Linked DNA regions of Homo sapiens: all the other regions are linked to region 3. Evidence: promoter capture Hi-C in 16 types of primary human blood cells and fetal thymus (Javierre and others, 2016). All regions are on one chromosome and are shown on one strand. The core of a region is centred on a gene start or on the middle of the fragment in contact, and the rest is flanking DNA. Distances in the headings are between cores, read along the strand shown.

What was found. The method cuts DNA at HindIII sites, captures the fragments that hold promoters and counts their contacts. A CHiCAGO score of 5 or more calls a contact.
Region 1: a fragment that was not itself captured here is called in contact with the fragment with the promoter of SATB1-AS1 in region 3 in 3 of 17 cell types (activated CD4 T cells, non-activated CD4 T cells and naive CD4 T cells); the score reaches 6.7 in activated CD4 T cells.
Region 2: a contact is called between a fragment that was not itself captured here and the fragment with the promoter of SATB1-AS1 in region 3, in 6 of 17 cell types (activated CD4 T cells, total CD8 T cells, naive CD8 T cells and 3 more). The highest score is 9.8, in activated CD4 T cells.
Region 4: a fragment that was not itself captured here is called in contact with the fragment with the promoter of SATB1-AS1 in region 3 in 4 of 17 cell types (activated CD4 T cells, non-activated CD4 T cells, total CD4 T cells and 1 more); the score reaches 7.3 in activated CD4 T cells.

The regions. Positions count from the first base shown.
Region 1 is chr3:18,565,725-18,568,424 of GRCh38, reverse strand. No RefSeq gene overlaps it. Among named protein-coding and RNA genes, the nearest start is that of SATB1-AS1, 120 kb to the right of the region's middle. The HindIII fragment of the contact is 4,964 bases long and covers 1-2,700 here.
Region 2 is chr3:18,546,721-18,549,420 of GRCh38, reverse strand. No RefSeq gene overlaps it. Among named protein-coding and RNA genes, the nearest start is that of SATB1-AS1, 100 kb to the right of the region's middle. The HindIII fragment of the contact is 3,106 bases long and covers 1-2,700 here.
Region 3 is chr3:18,443,827-18,446,526 of GRCh38, reverse strand. It overlaps SATB1-AS1 (SATB1 antisense RNA 1), which reads right to left and starts at 1,290. Exons shown (of 7, transcript NR_125803.1): 1 at 1,085-1,290. It also overlaps a transcript of SATB1 not described here. RefSeq lists a silencer at 1,165-1,384. The HindIII fragment of the contact is 8,267 bases long and covers 1-2,700 here.
Region 4 is chr3:18,527,407-18,530,129 of GRCh38, reverse strand. SATB1-AS1 (SATB1 antisense RNA 1) reads right to left here. Exons shown (of 7, transcript NR_125803.1): 7 at 16-149. Among named protein-coding and RNA genes, the nearest start is that of SATB1-AS1, 84 kb to the right of the region's middle. The HindIII fragment of the contact is 1,307 bases long and covers 695-2,001 here.

The DNA of each region.
Region 1 (2,700 bases), core at 3-2,502, 120 kb before region 3:
GTAATAGGAAAAGCACATAAAAATTCTAGAAAGAGGTGAGATTTAAGAGTGGGAGGAGGCAGAGGAGCTATAAAGGAAAGCATGAGAATAGGTGGGTAAAAAAAACTAAAAACGAAAAATAACTTAAGGAAAGCTAAGGAGGAGAAAAAATTTAGAAAGGAAGTGTGGTTAATGGTTTCAGCAGAAATGTAATAGACAAGGAAGTGTAAAGATGAGGACATTTCCATGGATGGTGGATATTGGGTGGTAGGTGTGACCTTTGATACCTACCAGAGTGTAATAGGTGAAGAATCAAATCACAATGGGTTTAGGAGTGAACTAAAATTAAAATAACAATTGCAATCACATTCATAGCATCATGCACCAGAACTATTTCAGAATGTAAATAAATAGAATACATCCTTTTCAAATTATGTGTGGTCTAATTCATAAGTTATCCAGCAAAGCAGACTAGGAAGGATATGGAAATGGTTCTATTTCCTGAATTCTAGGATGCCCCCAATTACAAGGTGTGTCATCAACGTAACAACAGTTTTCTTTGGAGGGGAAAGGGGGAAATTACCACTTACCATGCACATACCAATTCAAATAGCCAGCCCTCCTAGACTCAAGAGAATATAGTACTTACAAAAGAAAAGTGTTTTATTTAAAATGTATGGCTTTTTTTTTCTATCAAATGAGGAAACTTTGCTATATGGATAGATTCTAATCAATATTATCACAGATTCTCATAGAATTCTGGCTAAACATTCTTGTGTAGATGGGAACTATAGTAAAAGATGTATGAAAGTTGCCAGGAGAAGTAATAGTTTTAGAAGGACAAAGAGTATGAGACAAGCAGAGGGGTAGGTTGACTTGGGTTCCAAAAAAGAGTGAAGACAGTATTATACTGTCATCACTGGTCTCAAAAGAGATGTGACTAGCATAGGAACCAAAACCACTATAAGCACATTTGAAAGACCACATATGCTTAGGTTAACTTTGGTTTCATGTAAAGCCACTTTTTAGTTCTAGTGCCAAGGTACCTTTATCTAAGATGCTGCCATCATCCTTAGAACTGGCAGAGAGACAGCCAGAGGAGACACAAGGCCATTTTTATCTCTCTTCTCCCATCTCATCACAACTCCTGACTTTCCTGTGCTTCCAGCAGAGAGTCCTACAACTCAGACTTCCTTTACCTTCATCTGTGCAATGAACATCAGCATTGCATCCGGCTCATAGCTTCAGTTTTTATATATACACTGAGAAATATTCACTTGTATTAAAGAGTATAGAACCATAGAGCTAGAAAAGACATTTTAAAAACCACTCCCAATCAGGTATCTGTCTCAGACAGGTACTTTTTAACCTGTCCCCAAAAGACAACTATTTATTTCCTTCTTATAGATCCCTTGGTACAGAAAAATGACATTCTGCCTTGTTTGTTTGCTGCAGGATTTTATCCAGATGTTGCTTATGGTGAACAGAGACTCGTATCTTCATGGCAAAATGCACCAAACTTGATACAGGAGCCTTTGTTCAAATGTCTACTGTATTTGAATAAATACGTCTGGGTCACTAAGTTCTTCCCAACAAATGTTTTAACATCTTCCTGTTTATTTCTTCCATTTGTTCAATTCACTTCAAAAATAATAATCATCGTTCTTTACCCTTTTGTCCAGTTTGTTACTGTGTCTTGTATTTTTTTTTAATTAAGGAAATTTAGCGCAACATGTTATGCCTCTGATTTTAAATGTCGACAGTAAAGCTCTCCAAACTTATGATTTCCATGGCAAATGTAACTCAGTCTCATTGCCGAGTCACAGAGACACAACCATTAACATTTTATGCTATATGACAAAATACTGCACTTTTGGAAAGGGCCAGAATTAATGTTACTATGACAACTCCAAATTTCTGACTTTTATGCATGTAAAATTTCAAGGATATGGCTGCATTATAACACAAGGTTGTTTATAGAATCTCACTTAAGCACTAAGATATTTATTACCAGTTCTCACTGAGACCAGTAGAAAGTGTCATACTCCTCCGAATACCAATGCACATTCAGTGAAATAGATGGTAGTGTATATGTGGTTGCAAAATATTATGAAATCGATTAAAATCTTATTTCTTTTCGTAGCTGCTACACTTATAAACACATATATACAGTATGCAGCACTGGATATAAATACAAATAAAACATAAAGAGAAAACATATAAAACCTCATAAATATACAGTATCCTGCCTTATCAATATTCAGTTATGCATATCTCTGCACTCACGCATTAATAAAAGCACATATATTGGATTTGAATGTGTGAGGGATGGATAGCGAAGCTGTAATCGAGATATTCAAGCTCTCCTCTTCATGGAGAAGTATTACATTATCTCTCTCGGTCTATTATGTTTTCTGAAATTTCCAAATGTATGTTTTGGCCTCTTCAACTTTAGTCTTTTGCATTTAAGTAATGAGAAAGTTAAGTGCAATAAATGGATCACTCAAGGGCATTACAAAGAATGTTTTGATCTATTTAGAGCCTTTAACTTCAGAGCAAAGGCCTGGTTTAGTGTGACCTTAGTGAATTCAAACTGTTTTGTTTCACTAACAAGTAAAGCATTTATTTCAATAGAATTAATGTATGACTGGCTTCTCAAAAAGGCTCCATTTCAGGAGGGTTGGGGACCTGATTGTAAACCCTCTCAGATATATTTTTAAG
Region 2 (2,700 bases), core at 157-2,656, 100 kb before region 3:
CAAAAAGACAAGCAGCAGACTGGGAGAAAATATTTACAATACATATATGTGAAAAAGAATTTGCATTTGAATACATAAATAACTTTTACGAGTCAATGATAAGAACTCAAACACCCAATGAAAACATAGGCAAAAGACTTGAACAGATATTTCTTCAAAGAAGATAAACATATGGCAAAAAAAGCATCTGAATAAATGCTCAATATCATTAGTCATCAGGGAAATGCAAATTAGAACGATGATGAAATGCCACTACACTTCTACTAAAATGTCTACAATTATAAAGATTGATAATACCAAATGCTGGTGAGTATATGGAGCAACTGGAACTCTCAGACAGTGTGTATTTTTAGTGGAATGATTCATCTCACATAGGTATCTTAAACAAGTGAAGAATTACTCCTTTAAGTCAGGGCCTGAGATTTAATTAATGTTCATATTTATTCTTTTTCTCATTATACCTTCAGATTTTGCTAATTTCCATGGCTGAATTATTGTATATAACCTAGCTAAATATCAAATGGTCTCTACATCAGGAAAGAAACAATTGTTATTGACCTGGTAAGTTATTTTAAGATATCATCTCTATAACTACCAATTCATACATTCAATACCTCATTCTATCTTTGTTCTATTTTAATTTTCATAAATCATTTTGGAGGCCATACTGTATCTCCTTCTTACCGTGTAAATCTTGTAATGCCTTTGGCCAAAAGTAATAAAATTCAAATCAAACACAATTACAATTCATGAGTTATCTTTCAGTTTATACATCAATTCCAAAAGCTGACTCAATTTATAGACTCAATTAGAATGTCAACTGTGCCAGGTTGTGGGGTTTGAACTGTGACATTGGGAAAATTCAAATATGGTTTTATTTACTCTAGAACTTTAATTTCCTGTAATCCTCTCACAATCTATAAGACAGAACAATGATCTCTTTGAAGTGAAAACAGAGAATCACTCCTGAATTTTATTTCCCTACAAGTCTTATTTGCTCTATTTTTATGTTATTGTGATTTTCCAAACCTAAAATAATGATTTAAAGTACAACTGAGAGGAAAACAATTTAATATGTATTTTTTATATTCCAGAATAATTAAATTCCCACAATATTTTAATGATTTGGGAGATAATTAAACATAACATGTGATATCTAAGTTTAGATATCACATGCATTCTGTGGTTTCCTAAATTTTCTGTGGATTTTGCTCTATATCAACTTACTGTCTCATTTTCAGTACCAATATTGATGGGCTCCACTTCATTGTTCAATCCTTCCCAAATGTATTTAAAATGTAGTCCCACATAGATTAAATCACATGTCAGAATTGTTCATGGTACACCCTGTACATTCCTAAAGAAAGATATTTAATTAATTAAGAAAAAATAGTAGCATTCTGTAGGAAAAGCAAAAAATGCAAGATCAAAACTCCAGCTAAACTCTTTAAGCCATTATGAGTGACCTCTAAACCACAAACAATGTTAAATTCTTGGGAAAACTTTGCTTAACTGGCACTCACAATGCATATTAACTCAGAAGCACAACCCTGCCAAAAATATAAACCACTCAGTGTTTATAAATGTGAAAAGAAAATTAGCACATGAGCAAAAGGAAAAACACATCTTTGGTGTCAACCTTTCTGTGAACTTCTCTATTGTGATTACAGTTGTGTTTGCTGGGTTTTGCAGAGGTGTGATGGACAGGGGGATATGTATACCTGGAGGGAATTGTGCAGCTGTCAATAGTTGCCGACTGGAACTATGGCAGGTATAATTGTGTTCATTGTTTGTATTTCCTGATTCACAGAGCCCCTTAAAGTCACTGCAAAGGGAGCAATTCTTACAGACGTTCCCAACCCTGTCAGCCTATGAGACTCACTAGAGTGTTTTCAAAAATATTCCAATGCCTGATTCTTTCTACAGGTTAATGAAATAAGAACCTCTGAGCATGGAGCCTGGATATCAGTATTTTCTAATAACAGCTGGTGATTCTGATGCATAGTTAGGTCTTTAAAAAGCTGTATTAAAGCAAACGTTAGTAGCTGTTTCCAGCCCAGGCTTCTAAGATGATAGAGAAAGTAGGGACAGGGTTGAAGGGCCCAAAGCTATTTCCAATTTATCAGAAAGTCCAAGAGAATTATACATGCAACCTACAATATCCAGGTTTTGTGTTGGTTGGTTGGATGGATGGTTGATCTGTAATTATATTGGATCACTATTGTGTCTTGAAAGACAGTTGATGAACATAAAATGAAGAAATGAATTATTACATAAGAAAATATTTTTAGTACAATAGTTTTAACCATTGACTCCATTTTGGATAAAACTAAAAAGAGGATCTCTGAGAGATAGCTGTGGCTTTTGCCTATATAACATCCATTCTCCTTCTTTTGAAAACAACACCTCAATTTTGTAATGGGGAAATATCCCTTCCCCAATGTCAGTCTGAGTCTAATTGAACGTACCATCTGATTCTGAGATGAACATGTGACTCAGACCTGGATAATGCCAATATTACAACCCTTTGGCCAGAATAATGATTCAAACCCATGAAGATGAATCTGAGTCAAGCCATGAGAGTGACCAAAAGTCAGCCGTGATACTTTCTAGAGTAGTAAGAAGGAAACCTGAGCCACAAATGAGAGAAAAGTCTGTGTTACTAAAAATGCAATGAGAAGAAAAGCAGAGACTAGCAGA
Region 3 (2,700 bases), core at 41-2,540:
AGAGCAAGCCTTGTGTGAAAGGAATTCAAGAAAGTGCGGCTTCTAAAAATACACCTAGGCAGCTCTACAGTCCTTATTGTTACAACCTGACGTTTTGCAGTTCATGCCATGAACCTAACTACACTTCTTGCCAAATACACACAAGCGTACAAAGAAGAGGAAAAGTAAAAACTATGTTACTATGTTTTATCTTTCTGCAATCCCTTTGAGTAAACAGTAGTAATTTTCTGTTGACATACTCAATGCAAATTTCCCAAAGGCTACACAATACAAAACAAAAGACCTGTTAGCTTCCTCAGAGCTGGGGGGAGGAGAGGCAGGGGGAGAGAAATAAAGTTGATGGAGCTCCAGTTTCTCCTAAGCCTGCAGTCCTGAGCCTCCAGTCACCCTAGTCTTTTTGTAGAGATTTTTTGAGTTTCAGTCTCCACTTGGGAAGGTTCCTTGGCCCCTTCTCTCCCAATGTCAATAAAACCCTCATCTCTCCCGCTTTGCCCCCAGCTTTTTGGGGAAATTGGACCTTGCCTAGGCGTCTTGTTCCAGTGGGTTGAAAAGTACAGCTGGTGATGTGAGGATAAATATTTAAACTAATGGGCTGGGTCACAGCGTGGGGGTCTTCAAGAGAGGGCCTCCTCCTCCTTCCGCCACGTGCTCCTCACTTGGGGTGCAGGGCTCCTGGACAAGGGGCTAAGACGGACGAGGGTGGGATGAAGGGAGATGGACAGACCAGACTGTAAGTGAAGGAGGCCCTCTAGGAAACATCGTCTCGACCGAACATTGACGGAGAAAAAAAAAATGGCCCAAATGCCCCTAGTGGGGAAGCATACACCCCACGCAGGCTGGGTTGGGGTGGGGGTGCTTCGCGGCCTCTCACCTGACTTCCTCCTCCGCCTGCACACACACTACAGTAACCCCCTCTACTCACCCCCCAAAACCCAGCCAAACAACAAGCAACAAGAGGAAGCCGCAGGCGACAAGAGGAGGAGTGCGCGTGTTGGGGGCCCCCGGAGAGGTGAGGGGGCAGGGTTGGCGGGCGACGAGAACCGCGCCGCGCACCCCAAGCGCACCCCCAAGCGCCCACACTTACCCCTCGAGGCTGAGGGTCCTGTCTTCCGCGCCAACCCCCGTGTGCGCCCCCTGGCCCGCCCTCGCCCCTCCGGCCCGCCGCCCCCCACACCCCGGCCGGCGCGCTGGGAGGGAGCCCGGGAGCGGTGCGCAGCAGCGGCGGCGGCGGCGGCGGCTCGGGCTCGGCTCGGCTCGGGCTTCAGTGCGCCTAGTGTCGCCAGCGGCCGCCGAGGCTCCCACCGCCAGGGGGAGAAGCCGGGCGGGCGCTGGGGAGGCGGGCCGGGCCCTGGCCGCCCCGCTGGCCAGCCCGCGCCGCACAAGCTCCGAAGCGGCGGCTACGCGGGGTCCGCCGAGCCCCCGGGCGCAGCGTGCCCGGTCCGAAGCGCCACGTCTGGATGCGCGTCCCGGGTGGCTGCGGGCTCCCGCGGGGGACGCCCCGGCCGCTCCGGTGCGCCTCCAGACTGCAGGCGCCGCGACCGACGAGACGAGAGCAGCTCCCGCCGGCCCCTTCCCCCTCCCGCCCCCGCCGCCGCCCCCTCCCCCTTCTCCCCCCCCCGCCCGTTAACATCTCCTCCCTCCCCCTCCTTCTCTTCCTTCCCTTGGCCCCGCGCGCTCGCTCGCTCGCTCCTCGCCTCGCTCTCCCCTTTAAACGCCCACTTCGTATGGGGAAAGAGGACAACTTGAAGTCAAGTTGCAATTAACTTCCGCGGCAGCCGCAGCTCCGGCGGCGGCGGCGGCGGCAGGAGAGGCAGAAGCCGCCGCCTCGGAAGTCCGACGCCGGCGCGCCCGCCCGGGGAGCCGTTCTTGGTTTCAGGCCCGCACTCGACAGCCACCGCCGCCCCCAACGTCCATGCCTGAGTGAGTTCTGCTCTTTTGCCTCCCTTTTCCCCTTGCTACTCTTGCTGTTTTATCTCTGTCCCTCTTTTTCCGGAATCAATCCAAACTTCTCCGTAGCACCCACTCCTCGTCCCCTATTGGGGCGGCTGGGCTCCCCTCTCGTGGGCGCAGGGCTTCAACGGTCTTCCGAGCCCCTTTTCTCACGCAGACGGACCTTGGAGGGGTGGGCTGGTAGAGTAGGGGAGAGCGGTCGGGATGGGGGATTTGAAGATGCCATTCGTTTTCTGTCTGGGTGTGGACACACCACCACACCTGCCCAATAGACCCTGGCTGAACAAACTCCTTCAGGTCACCGGTATGGCCCCTTTTAGAAAAGGAAAGGGGAGTGGAAAAGACCGAAGGAAGCAAATGGGGAAAAGGGGAGCCTCTCGGTGCGTTCTGGAGCCGGGCGGGCAGTAAGGTGCCTGGAGGAGTGGGCTGCGGGAGTGGTAATGTTCCCCCACCGGATCGCGAGTCTGCTCAGCATCCTTTCCCGGTCCATCTCCGCCTCCCTCCGCTCCCTGCCTGCGCGGCTGATTGTAAGCATCGGCGAAGAGGGGCCTGGGAAGTTTGTGGCAACTTCTGCATCCCGGGAGCTACTCGGGCGCCGGGGCGCTCAAGTTGGAGCCCGGAGTTTGAAAGCCGCGGCACTCCTCATTTCGAGCCCTCGCTGGCTGTAGCGAGGCCGGTCCTGGAGAGGCTGCTGGCGTGAATGTGGGTTTGGAGTTGGGCAAGAGGCAGAAGAAAGGGCCGTCCTCTTAG
Region 4 (2,723 bases), core at 99-2,598, 84 kb before region 3:
TAAGCACAAGTCACTACAGGGTAGACATTTCATTGTCAATGCAAGAGCTTATTTTTCTCTCTGATGCAGCATCACGCCATGTTTGAGATGGTAGCTATTCCACCAGCCGTCAGCCTGGGTCTTTGAGTTATAGAATCCACAGAGGTCTCCTGATAACAAGAAGTGAAAAATAAACTTTTGTGGTATTAAGCCATTAATACTTGGTTGCTTTTTAACTGCAGCATAACCAGCTGTATCCCATCTTTTCTTTTGGGGACAGTTTTGTAGCAGATGCTGTCAGTGCCTCTCATATTACCTCCCTGTTAGCATCTGTTTCCCTTTGGCCCAACTTCCAACTCCTAGCACCAGTAGTTCTTTGTTAAGGGTGTCCTCTCACTGCTGAAACTCACTCTGCCACCTGTTCAACAGGTTGGAAGCTTCTGGAATTAATGTCTCTAGGAGCAGCTCTCAAGCAATATCTGAAGAGTGTTGGTGTATAAATACTTAGCTCCCTTACCCCTTGGGTAGGATAACTTTAAGGCAGAATAGCTTGTCTGGGCTTCAAGAGCTTTCCCTGTGGGATTATGCTTCAGTTGCTTCCTGGAACTGAAAGCTGTCTTGATAACATGCTCTTCCAAAATAAACTTTCTTTCATTCTTTCACTTAATCATTCTCCTACCTTTACTCTCTAACAAATTACTCAACCTTAAAAGCTTGTCTCAGTGTCTATATCTCAGGTAACCCAAGCTAAGTCAAATTTGAATAGCAACAGTTTGGGGACAGAGAATGTCAGGTAGAGAAAGCAGTATGAAAATAGAGGCAGAGGTAGAAAAACAAAGCATTTAAAGAATAGCAAGTTATTTAGTGTATGGATTAAACTGTATGCAAAGGGAGATAATATGGGATATAGTTGGGAAAATAGATTGGCAAGATCATGAAGGATCTTGAATGATAAACTAAGTGTTTGGGTGTTTAATTATGTGGATTCTTAGCACACTTTCATTTCTCATATATTCTCTCATATTCTCTTCATCTCTCTCATTATGGATCAAAAAGAAAAGGTCATGTTCCTGCTAAATACAGAAAAGTAAAGAGAAGCAGTAGGCAGTTTTCTTGATCATTTAATCACTCAATAATATCTATATAAGAATTAGACTATGGCAGCTGTGTATTTCTAACCTCCATCCTGCATCCCCTTGCCTTTCAGCTGAGAAAGTGTAAAAGACATTATTTCTTAACAGAATCATTAACAAAATTTCATCCCCCAAAAAGTCTGATTTAAGAAATTCGGAAACACAGGGTTATTACCTACTCATTAGGTTAAGCAAGCACAAACTCAAGAAGAAAAAAAAGGCCAACTAAGAATTCCTTAGTTTGGCATATCAAAAAGCTGAAATCTCTCTCTGGAGATCACAGGCCTTAAAAAGGCAGCATATGGTAATCATAAAAGCATTTGATACAATACAAAGGATGTAGGATTCTAGTTTCTGTGTGAGCTTAACCAAGTCATTTCTCCTCTTTGGGATCCAGTTTTTACATCTTTAAAATAATGGGGTAAGACTAGAAGAACACCTAAAAAATTTTACCCTAAAAAATTATAGGCTTCCAAATAATTGTATTTGGTGTATGCTTTATTAGTAAGCAGAACAAACACCTACCTTTAGCTGGTTCTGCAATTCTAAATTTTTGTGGCAGCTGTATATTTTCTGCTCTACTCTCTTAAATCATCTTCCTCCTCTATATTTGCCTTCCCTTCCTGTGCATTCTTTAAAATACGTTATGCAAATATTTTCCCTAACCACTGTATTTTAAGATTATGCTGTCCCTGACCTTGGGAGAGTAGAAGTTAATTTTTTGGTTGCTAATGATTGAGTCTTAGGGCTTAATAAGCCCTCCAAGTCCCCTAAGAATAAGCCCTCGAAGAACAAGAGGATAATAGCTTTAAGAAGAAAGCAAACACCTCTAAAGACACTCTAGGAGTGGGGTGGTACTGCATAAGTCAGGGAATTACCAGATGAAGCTTCAGGAGTGTAGAAATTGACAGGAATGCTGAGGGCCTTTTAGTCCAAGAAGAGCTGTGTAACAAGAGCTATCAAATTATTTGGGTGCATTATTTGGGTGCCCAGCAGTCCCACAGCAAGGGGAGAGGTTTTCTTGGGCAACAATTGCCAGTATCCAGGGATCACATCATTGGTTCTTCCTATCAACAGAGATGAAAACAATTCTCTTCAACCTCAAGCACTTAAGGTGTTGACCATCTGACAGGAAATGCACTTGACTACACTTTGCCATAACACTTTGCTTAGTGTTTAACTGATTATAACTTTGGTAACTCCATTCTCACAACAACCCAAGATGTCCATATTCTGAAGAAGATACAGAGGAGGAAAAATGGTGTCAGCCATTAGAACTCAATGTGAATTAAAACCTGGAAGAATTAATCTATGAAGATGGAATTGACTTCCAAAAATATAAAAAGCCATTCAATTATCCCATGCTTACTCACATTTGCTATTTATATTTAAGCTTTTTATTGTTGTTGTTAAATATATTTGAAATTCTCCAGTAACAAGGATATCTCAATTTTAAACTAAATGATTATATTTTAACAAAAAAGTACATTTATATAGAGTAAGAACAACTGGTATGTGCATGACCAGAAAATCACTTATATAATTCGGAGATAATATCGTAATTCTTGATGTGATGATGATTGAATTAAACATTTTTGAATACTTTTATTG